Linked DNA regions of Homo sapiens: region 2 is linked to region 1. The links are contacts of gene promoters, found by promoter capture Hi-C in human tissues and cell types (Jung and others, 2019). All regions are on one chromosome and are shown on one strand. The core of a region is centred on a gene start or on the middle of the fragment in contact, and the rest is flanking DNA. Distances in the headings are between cores, read along the strand shown. Region 1 holds the start of CAPNS2 (calpain small subunit 2). Region 2 has its middle 34 kb from the start of SLC6A2.

Region 1 (6,257 bases), core at 2,270-4,769:
TAGTTACAGAGCACATGATTCTTTTTCCTTTTTTATAGGTTATAAAATTTAGTGGATTATATCAAGATAAAGTTACTTTTCAAAATCACATGGGATCTTTTGAAATTTAAAAATGTAGATGTATAATTTCACATATTTTTATCACTGAGTATGATTTTCAATTTACATTGATTAAATTACTTAATGTCAGAAATTTAAGAATAATGGCATGGAGTTATATGAATTATATAAATCTTAGGCTATAAATAGTCTTGCATATAGAGCAGGCAAATTTTTAAAAAGGTGTCAAGTTAAATATTGCTTCTAACATTAAAAATGTGCCTTTAAAACATCAAATATTGAATGAAAACTAAGAAATTCAATCACTTGCTAGGCTATTGGTTCTACACAATGCTAAATATTTGGTTACTTGGAAAAAGTCCAGATTTTTTAGTTCTAGTATCCACTCTGATGTCTGAGGTTACTTATACAAATTCAGAAGAGAAAAGGAGAGAAACTTAGGTAATTTCAGGGTGTTTTTCCATGAGCATGCTGGAAGAGAATTGTAAAAGTAGGTAATCCCTCAACTTGAGAAGCAAGGGCAATAATACCACTCCTAGTGTGAGATGATTGTTTTAACTTTTATGAAACATTTACAATAAAGTGAGGAACAAAAATGTGGTTACATTGTTCTTTCCACAACCATCCTATGGAAAGGTTAAATTATAAACCTAATATTCTGAGAATTTAAAAGATGTCTGGCAGCTTTCCCCTTTCTTGGCTACTTTACTACATCCATGCCTAACATATTCCTGGACTTATTCTAAAATAGAGAGATTGTTATTAATGTGTGGTTGCTGGCAGCAGCCTCCTTCTTATGTAACCACACCTGGTCTAAGTAGCACACCAGACCAAGGTTAAATTACAAGTCCCTTGAGGAAAGTGGATGTGATCTCTGTGCTTGGCTCAGTTCAGAATTATATGTGTGTGGTGTTTCATAAATATTGTATGATGGTGATGATGGTGAACACAAAGGTCAAAAGCCAACCTCTCCACATTTCACTGGGGATTTCTAACAGGAAGCTGAGGGATGTTAACAGGCTAGTTACATCATTTCCATAGTTACAACTTTCTTCTAAATGAGTCCAAAGAGGAAGGAAGAATTTATCTGCAAACTCGGGATGACCCTCCAAAGTAGCCTGGGATAGAGACAATGCATTAAAAATCAGAGAAGCAGAATGGGTAGAGACCAATTAAATAGCAGACAGAGGAACCAAGCACTTGCAAATGTAGCCTCTCTAGCTGTGTCTACTGGCACCGGAATCCTGGATTCTGTTTGCTCTGCTATATTAGCCTATTATCAAAATTATAAAGCCAAACCAAGGTCTGTACGCAAGAAAGGCACAACTACCCCAGCTTTTGGGTGGCATTTTCTTGGTATTTCTATCTTCCTTCTCCTGAATGCTGGCAACACTGACTCTCCTGCATGGCCTTAGTTTTGGCTGAGACAGGCTTGAAAAATACTGTGAGGTGGCCCTACTTCAAAGCAATCAAGGCTGTCAACCTTGGCTGATCATTAGAATCACTTGGGGAGCTTTAAACATATTCATCTCTGGGCCCCACCTCTAAAAAGTCTTATTTAACATATTTGGAGACTCAAGTATTAGTATTCCTAAAGAGCTCTCCCAGTGATTCCAAATTGCAGCCAGGGCTGAGAATAATTGCAATAGTCAGCAATATGTGTTCTCTATATTGGTTTACATTCCATTTAACTGATTACTGTTCATGTGTTTTTCTTTTTTTGTTTTTCTTTGTTTGCTGCTTATTTCCTGCCTGTAGTTTTCAAAGATGAACAAAAGAATTTTCCTTGCTCTAAGGCAGGACAAGACACGACAAGAGCTGGCTAACGTCAACAGGGCATGCCTGATTTTGTATGAAGTACGTGTAAGAGCAAACATTTTGATTCATTAAGGCAGCTAGAGACATTTTTGAACTATGAGCATATTGTTTTATTCCTCAATGTCTTTGACTCTCTTTACAAATGTATCAAAACAAAATTGCTAGTGCTTTTTTTTACTAAAGAAACAGAATTAAAGAACTTTAGAATTTTAGATAGTAGCTCCATCATTTAAAAAAATGCTACCCTTATATAAAACTGCTTAATTTCATTGTCTGAACCTGTTTCTTTATGGTTAAATAAGTTTCCTAAAAAGCACTTTTCATTTTTTTACATAATGGGAAAACCAGGTATAAAATTACAAGAAAAACAGATTTTGAACCTCTCTCCTCAACTTTTTAAAATGGAAAATGTATCTCCTGAGGGCTTTCTTGATTTATTCTAGGATTAAAAAAATTCATTCTTAACAACAATAACAACAATAATAAAGTTCCTACTCCTTGGAATTTATTCACTAAATAAGCAACACCTTTTAAAATCTACTCCATTAGAACTCTACCCCACAACCTCCCCACCATATATATGCAAGTCCATATAAATCCAAATCTCAAAAAGCTGATATACAAACCACTCAGAACATTTTTCGTGAAATATCTGTTTTAATTCAGCAGTAAAAGGCAGCACATGATCAGAAATATGTAGGGTTGTGAAAGAGCTTGCCAGGAAATGAGAGCTGTTGCACAGGGTATCAGCAACTGTGTACAGCTTGGCAAGGTTTTCAGTCCTGTCCTCCAGGGAGGATCTTGACTTCTCAGTTCCCACTTCAGGAATACATGGTCAACTGCAGCCATTCTTTGATAGACACTTGAATCAGGCCATCTCTATCTCTATCCAGAGACTTGAAGGCACGAAACATGGCATCCAGGCGGACCAAGCAGCTGATGAAATTGTTAAAATCCATATCTCCATCTTCATTAGCATACCGGCGGACAATCATTTGGTAAAGTTGTTCATTTAGCTGGAAGCCTGCGGCCTGCAGAGCTCCCCGCAGCTGAGAACTTCCCAGAGACCCAGAATGGTCCCTGTCATACTGCTTATAAACACACTGCCATTTCTTGATGTTGTTCCACAGATACTTAAATTCTTCAAAGCCCAGCTTACCAGTCGTGTCACTGTCCATGACAGACACAATGCTCCGGCAGGTGTCAAGACTAAAACCGTCAGTCTTAAGATCTTTGTGCTTAGAAAGGACTTTGTTGAGAATATTCATCAGATCAGTGGCACCCACCTCCATGTCTGGTCCAGCCAGCTGTGTAAATTGTTGCCGAAATCGCCTAACTTCCTCACTTTCTGAGGCCTCCACACTGGTGAAATGCTGCTGAGTGGGAGGCGGTTCTGGAGTATACTGAGCTGCTGCAGCCTCACTGATAAAATTCACAATTCCTCCAACTATCCCTCCAATATTTCTTCCTCCTCCTTCTCTTCTCTGACCACCTCCTCCAAAGAGGCCTCCAAGAGCTTCTCCAAGACCTCGATCTGCTCCTTCCAATAGAGCCTTTGCAAGAAACATGCTTTCAGTTTAACAAGCAAATGCGGCAGCAATCTTAGAGATGGTATGAAAAAAGATGAAATGGAGTTCAAGTAGTTTACATGTGGAAGAACTGGCTTTTCTTTACCTGCTTACACTGCACCACGCCCCATGATGTGATGTTTCACATCCTACTGAAGATACCTGAGTTCCATGAGGTCCTAGCACCTGCCATATTTTACAAGGCCTCAATAAAATTGTTTTCACTCTTCCAGATACTTATAAATTATAGTATGTAGGACACCTTAGGATAATAGTTTTAAAGAAAAAATATTAAAGTATGCATTTTTATGTCATTGATTTCTTAGTCCTCTGTCTCAGCACCTAAAAAATGATGTGCATTTTCCTAACAGGAAAAAGGTAAATGATGCAAGGAAATCAAAAATTTATTCTCTAAGAAATATTTATTGTTAGAATAGAATTGAAGAAATCTTGGGCATTGGAAGAATATTTAATCCTCTTCCTTTAGCAAAGATTCTCAAAATCCAGTAGTCTTAAGAAAAATTTAGAAGGGAGATTTTTAAAATGCAAGGTCCTGAATTTCCACTCCCAGAGATTCTGATTCCATAGGGCTGCTGTGGTGTCTGTGATCGACATTGCTAAAATCTTTTTTGAAATGTAACATTCATGTAAAAAATGTATCATATAAATCACAAATGGATAGCTCAAAGAATTTCACAGACTGCACACATCTCAGAGGCCTCTTCATACTTCTTTCTAGTTACTTCCGTCTTCCAAGGATAACCACTGTCCTGACATCTAACACCATAGATTTATTTTTGCACCTTAAATAAATTAAATCAGACAGTACAGACTCTTTCATTTATTCCTTTTTCATTATAAAAATGTTAAATGTTTTAAAATTGTGATAAAATACACATGCCATAAAATATACTATTTTAACCATTTTTAAGTATAGAGTTCAGTGGCATTAAGTATATTTGCATTGTGAAACCATCACCACCAGCTATCTTCAGAACTTTTTTCATCTGGCAAAACTGAAACTGTACCCATTAAAGAATAACTCCCATTCTCCCCTTCCCCCACCCCTGGTAACCATCTCTCTATTTTCTAGCTCTATGATTTGACTACTCTGCATGCCTTATATAAGTGGAATCATACAGTATTTGTTCTTTTGTGACTTGCTTATTTCAATGAGCATAATTTCTTCAAGATTCATCCATGTTGTATCATGTGTCAGAATTCCCTTCCTTTCTAATGATGAATAATATTGTATTGCATTAATATACTCATTTTGTTTTTCCATTATCCCATTGGTGAATACTTGGGTTGCCCTTTTGGCTATTGGGAATAATGCTGCTATGAACATGGGTATACAAATATTTGTTTGAGTCTTTGCTTTCAATTCTTTTGGGTATATACCAAGAAGTGGAATTGCTGAATCATATGATAATTCTATTTTTATCTTTTTAAGGAACTACCATACGCTTTTCCTTATTGACTGTACCACTTACATCCCCACCAGCAATACACAAGAGTTCCAATTACTCCATATGCTTGCAAACACTTGTTATTTTCTCTTTTGTTTTGTTTTCTAATAATAGCCATCCTAATGGCTGTAAAGTGGTATAACATTGTAGTTTTGATTTGCATTACCCTAATGATTAATGATGTTGAGCATCTTTTAATGTATTAATACTTACTGACCAAAGAAGATCTTTGGAAAAATGTCTATTTAAATCTTTTGGCCATTTTAAAATCTGGTTATTTGTTGGGTTTCTTGTTGTTGAGTTGCAGGAGTTCTTTAAATATTCTAGATATTAATCCCTTATCAGATATATAATTTGTAAATATTTTCTTTCATTCTGTAGGTTACCTTTCCACTCTGTTGTTAGTGTCCTTTGATGCACAAAAGTTTAAAATTTGTATGTGGTCATATTTATCTATTTTTCTTTGGCTGCCTGTGCTTTTGGCGTAATATTCAAGAAATCATTGAGAAATCCAGTGTCATGAAGCTTTTCCTCTGTTTTCACTGAAGAGTTTTATAGTTTCAGCTCTTATGTTTAGATCTTTGATCCATTTTGAGTTAACTTTTGTATATGTGTAAGTTAAGGGTCCAACTTCATTCTTTTGCATGTGGATATATAATTTTCCCAGCACTATTTGTTGAAAAGACCGTCCTTTCCCCATTGAATGGTTTTGGCATTCTTGCTGAAAATCATATGACCATATACACAAGGGTTTCTTCTGGGATCTCTATTCTATTCCATTGGCTTATATGTCTTTCTTGAAACCAGTGCTGCACTGTTTTGATTACTGTAGGTTTGAAGTAAGGTTTGAAATGAGGAAATGTCAGGCTTTCAACTTTGCTATTCTTTTTCAAGATTGTTTTGGCTATTCAGTGTCCCTTGAAATTCCCTATGAATTTTAGGATTGATTGTTCTATTTTTGTAAAGAAACATTGGGACTTTGAAAAGGATTGCTTTAAATCTGTAGATCACTGTGGGAAGTACTGACTCTTAATATTGTCTTCTAATCCATAAACATGGAATATCTTTCCATTTATTTGTCTCTTCTTCAATTTCTTTCAGCAGTGCTTTGTAGTTTTCAGTGTACAAGTCTTTAGCTTCCTTCTTGAAGTCTATTCCTAAGTATTTTAATTTTTTCTATGCCATTGTAATGGAATTGTTTTCTTAGTTTCCTTTTCAGAATTGTTCATTGTTGGTGTATAAAATGCAACTGATTTTTGTGTGTTGATTCATATCCTGTAACATTGCTAAGTCCCTTAATTAGTTCTGTGTTTTGTATGTGTGAGGGGTAATCTTTAGGGTT
Region 2 (6,235 bases), core at 3,386-5,885, 53 kb before region 1:
CCAGCTACTCGGGAGGCTGAGGCATGAAAATCGCTTGAAGCTGGGAGGAAGAGGTTGCAGGGAGCTGAGAATGCATCACTCCATTCCAGCCTCAGCAACAGAGTGAGACTCTGTCTAAAAAAAAAAAAATTCAACCATTGTGGAAGTCAGTGTGGCGTTTCCTCAGGGATCTAGAACTAGAAATACCATTTGACCCAGCCATCCCATTACTGGGTATATACCCAAATGACTATAAATCATGCTGCTATAAAGACACATGCACACGTATGTTTATTGCGGCATTATTCACAATAGCAAAGACTTGGAACCAACCCAAATGTCCAACAATGATAGACTGGATTAAGAAAATGTGGCACATATACACCATGGAATACTATGCAGCCATAAAAAACGATGAGTTCATGGCTGGATGGATGAAATTGGAAATCATCATTCTCAGTAAACTATCGCAAGAACAAAAAACCAAACACCGCATATTCTCACTCATAGGTGGGAATTGAACATTGAGATCACATGGACACAGGAAGGGGAATATCATACTCTGGGGACTGTGGTGGGGTGGGGGGAGGGGGGAGGGATAGCATTGGGAGATATACCTAATGCTAGATGACGAGTTAGTGGGTGCAATGTACCAGCATGGCACATGTATACATATGTAACCAACCTGCACAAGGTGCACATGTACCCTAAAACTTAAAGTATAATAATAAAAAAATAAATAAATAAATAAATTTAAAAAAAGGAAGAAAAAGAAAAAAAATACTTTGTATTTGCATAGGGTGTTACACTTCTCAAGGTTTTCTCTCACTCTCTTATTTTATTTTATTTATTTTGTAGAGGCAGCATCTCGCTATGTTGCCCAGGCTGTTCTTGATCTCCTGCACTGAAGCAATCCTCCCGCATCAGCCTGCTGAAGTGCTGGGATTACAGGCATGAGCCACTGTGCCTGGCCTCTCTCACTCTCATTCTCTCAGTTTCTTTCTGTCTCTGTTTGTCTCTCACCTGTGCACTTGCATGCACAGTCATGCACACACAGAGAGATACACATACATGAGTTTGGTCTGAACTGACCCTCACAAAATTTCAGTGGCAGTATATAGATGAAGTAGTATCCCAATTTTGCAGATGAGGAAACTGAGTCCCAGGGAAGGTAAGGGACATGACAGTAAGTCAGTGGATAAACACAGGGACTAGAACCTATCGGTGCTCTTTTCTCTGCATTACAGGCTCACTTAGAAGAAGAACAGCTGAAGCACAGTGAAGGTGTGGAATGGGAATGGGGAAGGGTTAGGCTAGAAGGCAAGTGCCTGGATTTCTTCCCGAGGTGCTGCCCTCTGCAGCCTTTTCTGGGTGCAACACCTGACCTAAGGTGCATAGATATCCTGGCCCCAAGCCTGGCAGGCAAGCTCTCTGGGAGTAAACAAGGCTTTTCCTCCCACCCCCACAACCCTCCCATCTCCCCTCGGTGTCTCGTGATGCTGGCCCCACCCTGGAGCGCATGCTTCAGAGCTATCAGGGCACTGGGGCTGGGTGACCGCTACAGGAACTCATCCATAAACACACAAACAATGACTCAGGAAGTGCAAGCCTTTGATGTGGCTCAAGGGCCACCCTGTGAGCACGTGGGGCTCCCTTCAAGGTCATTTTACCCATGTGTGGCTTCACCAGTGTCCAGAGCCCTCTCTCATCTAATTTCATCTGATCTCTCTCAGGCCCTGTGTGGTAGACAAAGCAATGATCTGGAAACTGAGGCTGAGAGAGACTTAAGTGGCTCAGTAGCGGTGTGTAGGAATCAGAGCTGGCCGACAAGTTAGGGATCTTGGAATCCAAGGACAGCTGTGTCCTCAGAGCTGGGGGACCTCTGTCTGTCTTCAGAGTTGACTCCAAGCAGTTGTTCTGTCTCACAGGGCCTCAGCTCCTTCATTTGTCAAAGAGAGCTACTGCTTCTTCCAGACATTGCTAGGGTCCAAAAAAGCAGCTTCTTTATGATGCTACTTTGAGAACCATTAAAGAACTAAAATGAAACAAAACAAAACTTTTTGGCCTCATGATTCCAATAATCTACTGAATCAATGACTGAATGAAGACAAAGTTTGGGTATATTTATGGCTGTTATGAGTGAGCCCAAGCTAGAAAGCAAAATCATTCTCTAAAAATGTCCTCTGAGAATCGGCACCGTAGAACATATCACAGGACCAATTGTCTGGTACCTTCTCTTCTGAGCCATTTGTGGATTATGTTTATATCTTCCCACAGCTGTTCTCCATTTGCCATACTTCTTCATAATGTGCATGATGCAGGCATTGTGGGCTAGTGATGGGGAAAGGGGCACTCTTGGGCAGTTTTAAAGGCAGCATCCCCACAGTTTCGGTTTCCATTTACATATTACTTAAACAGTGAGTCCAACTGCCATTGGGAAAGTGATGGCACTTCTCTTTTAGGATTTCTGTGTTTTGTTTTTCTTCACCAAGAAACTTTCAGATTGAGAGTAGGTGGTTACTTCTTAGTCCAAAAATATCACAGCAGGGGTGGATAGGTAAGGTGAGGCCTACAAATGTAGCTGGATGTGGATGAAAAGGAAATGCAATTTGTAAAGATCAAACCATTGCAGTATGATACAGTAAGAAATTAGCAAACCAATGTCTCATTTTGTTGCAGATTGAATCTATTTACTGAAAAACACTTGTTTTTATAGAAATTAGCTATACCAGGAATTTATTTTAGCCTTCCCAACCTTTCCATCCATTTTCTTTGAGCTTTCTTCTAGCCTATGAATCTGAAAGTTATCACAAATCCAGTGAAAAGTGACTTCAGCTGGCCCATCAGCTGTTCACAGGGCCTGTGTTTACCTTTCAAAAGAAATTGATTTTTCCTAACAATTATGCCAAGCACAGAGATTTTGCTTCAGTTATCTCAGGTTAATTTGTAGTGCCTTCTAGCCTGAAATGCTGACAAGCAGATGACTGACTCTAAGAAATCTAGAAAAATTTGCAGGTTTATATTACAAATGTTTCTCCACTGAATAAAACTTTGTGAGTGTATGTGAATAAAATACATTTAGGGGAAACTTCTACTATAGAGAAGTGAATTAAAATTCAGTAATGCCAATTCAAGCAACCACCCTAGAAGGGGTTCTAGCCTTCTCCTAACTCCAGCTTCCCAAATTATCAATGAACCCACTTGAATTTTCTTCATCAGACACATATGCTTTATCTTTCTACGTGGCAGAAATGCATGCCACAGCCAAAAATGCCTGCAGCTGCCTACGAGGAAGTAACTCTGAGAAACACAGAATCTCACGGATAGAAGAAATACTAAAACTAGATGTTTTCTAGCGTCATCTTCTTAATTAACACAGAAGACTTTCTTGCTTCATTTTTCCACTTTTGGCTATAGAGAGGAGGAGGGGGTCTTTTCCTTCTGTTGTTTTGTGGTTTTTGTTTTTGCCAATAGCAATAAGTGGTCTTTATTTTGAGCCTGATTCATATAAAATATCCATAAAAATCAACAATGACATTTATGAGATTTTGAACATTGGATATTTGATATTAACAAAATGATGGTTACTAGTTTTAGTAACCTTTAAAATACTTTTTTAAAGTATTTTAAAACCCTTAAAATACTTCAAAAAGTATTTAGTAATACATTTTTTTAGAGTCCTTTTTTGGAGATTTTAAAAATTAATTAATTTATTTATTAATTTTATTATACTTTAAGTCCTAGGGTACATGTGTACAACATGCAGGTTTGTTACATATGTAAACATGTGCCATGTTGGTGTGCTGGACCCATTAACTCGTCATTTACATTAGGTATTTCTCTTAATGCTGTCCCTCCCCCCTCCCCCTACCCCACCACAGGCCCCAGTGTGTGATGTTCCCCGCCCTGTGTCCAAGTGTTCTCATTGTTCAATTCCCACCTATGAGTGAGAACATGCAGTGTTTGGTTTTCTGTCCTTGCGATAGTTTGCTCAGAATGATGGTTTCCAGCCTCATCCATGTCCCTACAAAGGACAAGAACTCATCCTTTTTATGGCTGCATAGTATTCCATGGTGTACACATGCCACATTTTCTTAATCCAGTCTGTCACTGATGAAACAGCATCCCTTCCTTACACCTTACACAAAAATTAATTCAAGATGGATTAAAGACTTAAATGTTAGACCTAAAACTATAAAAACCCTAGAAGAAAACCTAGGCAATACCATCCAGGACATAGGCATGGGCATGGACTTCATGACTAAAACACCAAAAGCAATGGCAACAAAAGCCAAAATAGACAAACGGGATCTAATTAAACGAAAGAGCTTCTGCACAGCAAAAGAAACTACCATCAGGGTGAACAGGCAACCTACAGAATGGGAGAAAATTTTTGCAATCTACCCGTCTAACAAAGGGCTAACATCCAGAATCTACAAAGAACTTAAGCAAATTTACAAGAAAAAATCAAACAACCCCATCAAAAAGTGGGCAAAGGATATGAACAGACACTTCTCAAAAGAAGACATTTATGCAGCCAACAGACACGTGAAAAAATAATCATCATCACTGGTCATCAGAGAAATGTGAATCAAAACCATAATGTTTTAGTACCAGTACCATGCTGTATTGGTTACTGTAGCCTTGTAGTATAGTTTGAAGTCAGGTAGTGTGGTGCCTCCAGATTTGTTATTTTTGCTTAGGATTGTCTTGGCAATGCGGGCTCTTTTTTGGTTCCATATGAACTTTAAAGTAGTTTTTTCCAATTCTGTGAAGAAAGTCATTGTTAGCTTGATGGGGATGGTATTGAATCTATAAATTATCTTGGGCAGTATGGCCATTTTCACGATATTGATTCTTCCTATCCATGAGCATGGAATGTTCTTCTATTTGTTTGTGTCCTCTTTTACTTCATTGAGCAGTGGTTTGTAGTTCTCCCTGAAGAGGTCCTTCACATCCCTTGTAAGTTGGATTCCTAGGTATTTTATTCTCTTTGAAGCAATTGTGAATGGGAGTTCACTCATGATTTGGCTCTCTGTTTGTCTGTTGTTGGTGTATAGGAATGCTTGCGATTTTTGCTCATTGATTTTGTATCCTCAGGCTTTGCTGAAGTTGCTTATCAGCTTAAGGAGATTTGGGGTTGAGACAATGGGGTTTTCTAAATATACAATCATGTCATCTGCAAAAAGGGACAATTTGACTTCCTGTTTTCCTAATTGAATACCCTTTATTTCTTTCTCCTGCCTGATTGCCCGGGCCGAACTTCCAACACTGTGTTGAATAGGAGTGGCAAGAGAGGGCATCCCTGTCTTGTGCTAGTTTTCAAAGGGAATGCTTCTAGTGTTTGCCCATTCAGTATGATATTGGCTGTGGGTTTGTCATAAACAGCTCTTATTATTTTGAGATATGTCCCATCAATACCTAATTTATTGAGAATTTTTAGCATTAAAGGCTGTTGAATTTTGTTGAAGCCCGTCTCTGCATCTATTGAGATAATCATGTGGTTTTTGTCTTTGGTTCTGTTTATGTGATGGATTACATTTATTGATTTGCATATGTTCAACCAGCCTTGCATCCCAGGGATGAAGCCAACTTGATTGTGGTGGATAAGCTTTTTGATTGCTTCTGGATTCGATTTGTCGGTATTTTATTGAGGATTTTCGCATCAATGTTCATCAGGGATATTGGTCTAAAATTCTCTTTTTTTGTTGTGTCTCTGCCATGCTTTGGTCTCAGGATGATGCTGGCCTCATAAAATGAGTTAGGGAGGATTCCCTCTTTTTCTATTGATTGGAATAGTTTCAGAAGGAATGGTACCAGCTGCTCTTTGTACCTCTGGTAGAATTCTGCTTTGAATCTGTCTGGTCCTGGACTTTTTTTGGTTGCTAGGCTATCAATTATTGCCTCAATTTCAGCTCCTGTTATTGGTCTATTCAGAGATTCAGCTTCTTCTAGGTTTAGTCTTGGAAGGGTGTATGTGTTGAGGAATTTATCCATTTCTTCTAGATTTTCTGGTTTATTTGCATAGAGGTGTTTATAGTATTCTCTGATGGTAGTTTGTATTTCTGTGGGATCGATGGTGATATCCCCTTTATCATTTTTTATTGCGTCTATTTGATTCTTCTGTTTTCTTCTTTATTAGTCTTGCTAGTGGTCTATCAATTTTGTTGATCTTTTCAAAAAAACCAGCTCCTAGATTCATTGATTTTTTGAAGGTTTTTTTGTGTCTCTAACTCCTTCAGTTCTGCTCTGATCT

Evidence for each region. The method cuts DNA at HindIII sites, captures the fragments that hold promoters and counts their contacts. A contact is called where the count stands out against the background at its distance.
Region 2: a contact is called between a fragment that was not itself captured here and the fragment with the promoter of CAPNS2 in region 1, in 1 of the 25 tissues and cell types used here (bladder).

The regions. Positions count from the first base shown.
Region 1 is chr16:55,563,946-55,570,202 of GRCh38, reverse strand. It overlaps CAPNS2 (calpain small subunit 2), which reads right to left and starts at 3,519. Exons shown (of 1, transcript NM_032330.3): 1 at 2,516-3,519. The coding sequence starts at 3,446. The coding sequence ends at 2,700. All of the region lies in intron 11 of LPCAT2 (lysophosphatidylcholine acyltransferase 2), which reads right to left. The HindIII fragment of the contact is 10,931 bases long and covers 1-5,937 here.
Region 2 is chr16:55,618,577-55,624,811 of GRCh38, reverse strand. No RefSeq gene overlaps it. Among named protein-coding and RNA genes, the nearest start is that of SLC6A2, 34 kb to the left of the region's middle. The HindIII fragment of the contact is 4,342 bases long and covers 2,465-6,235 here.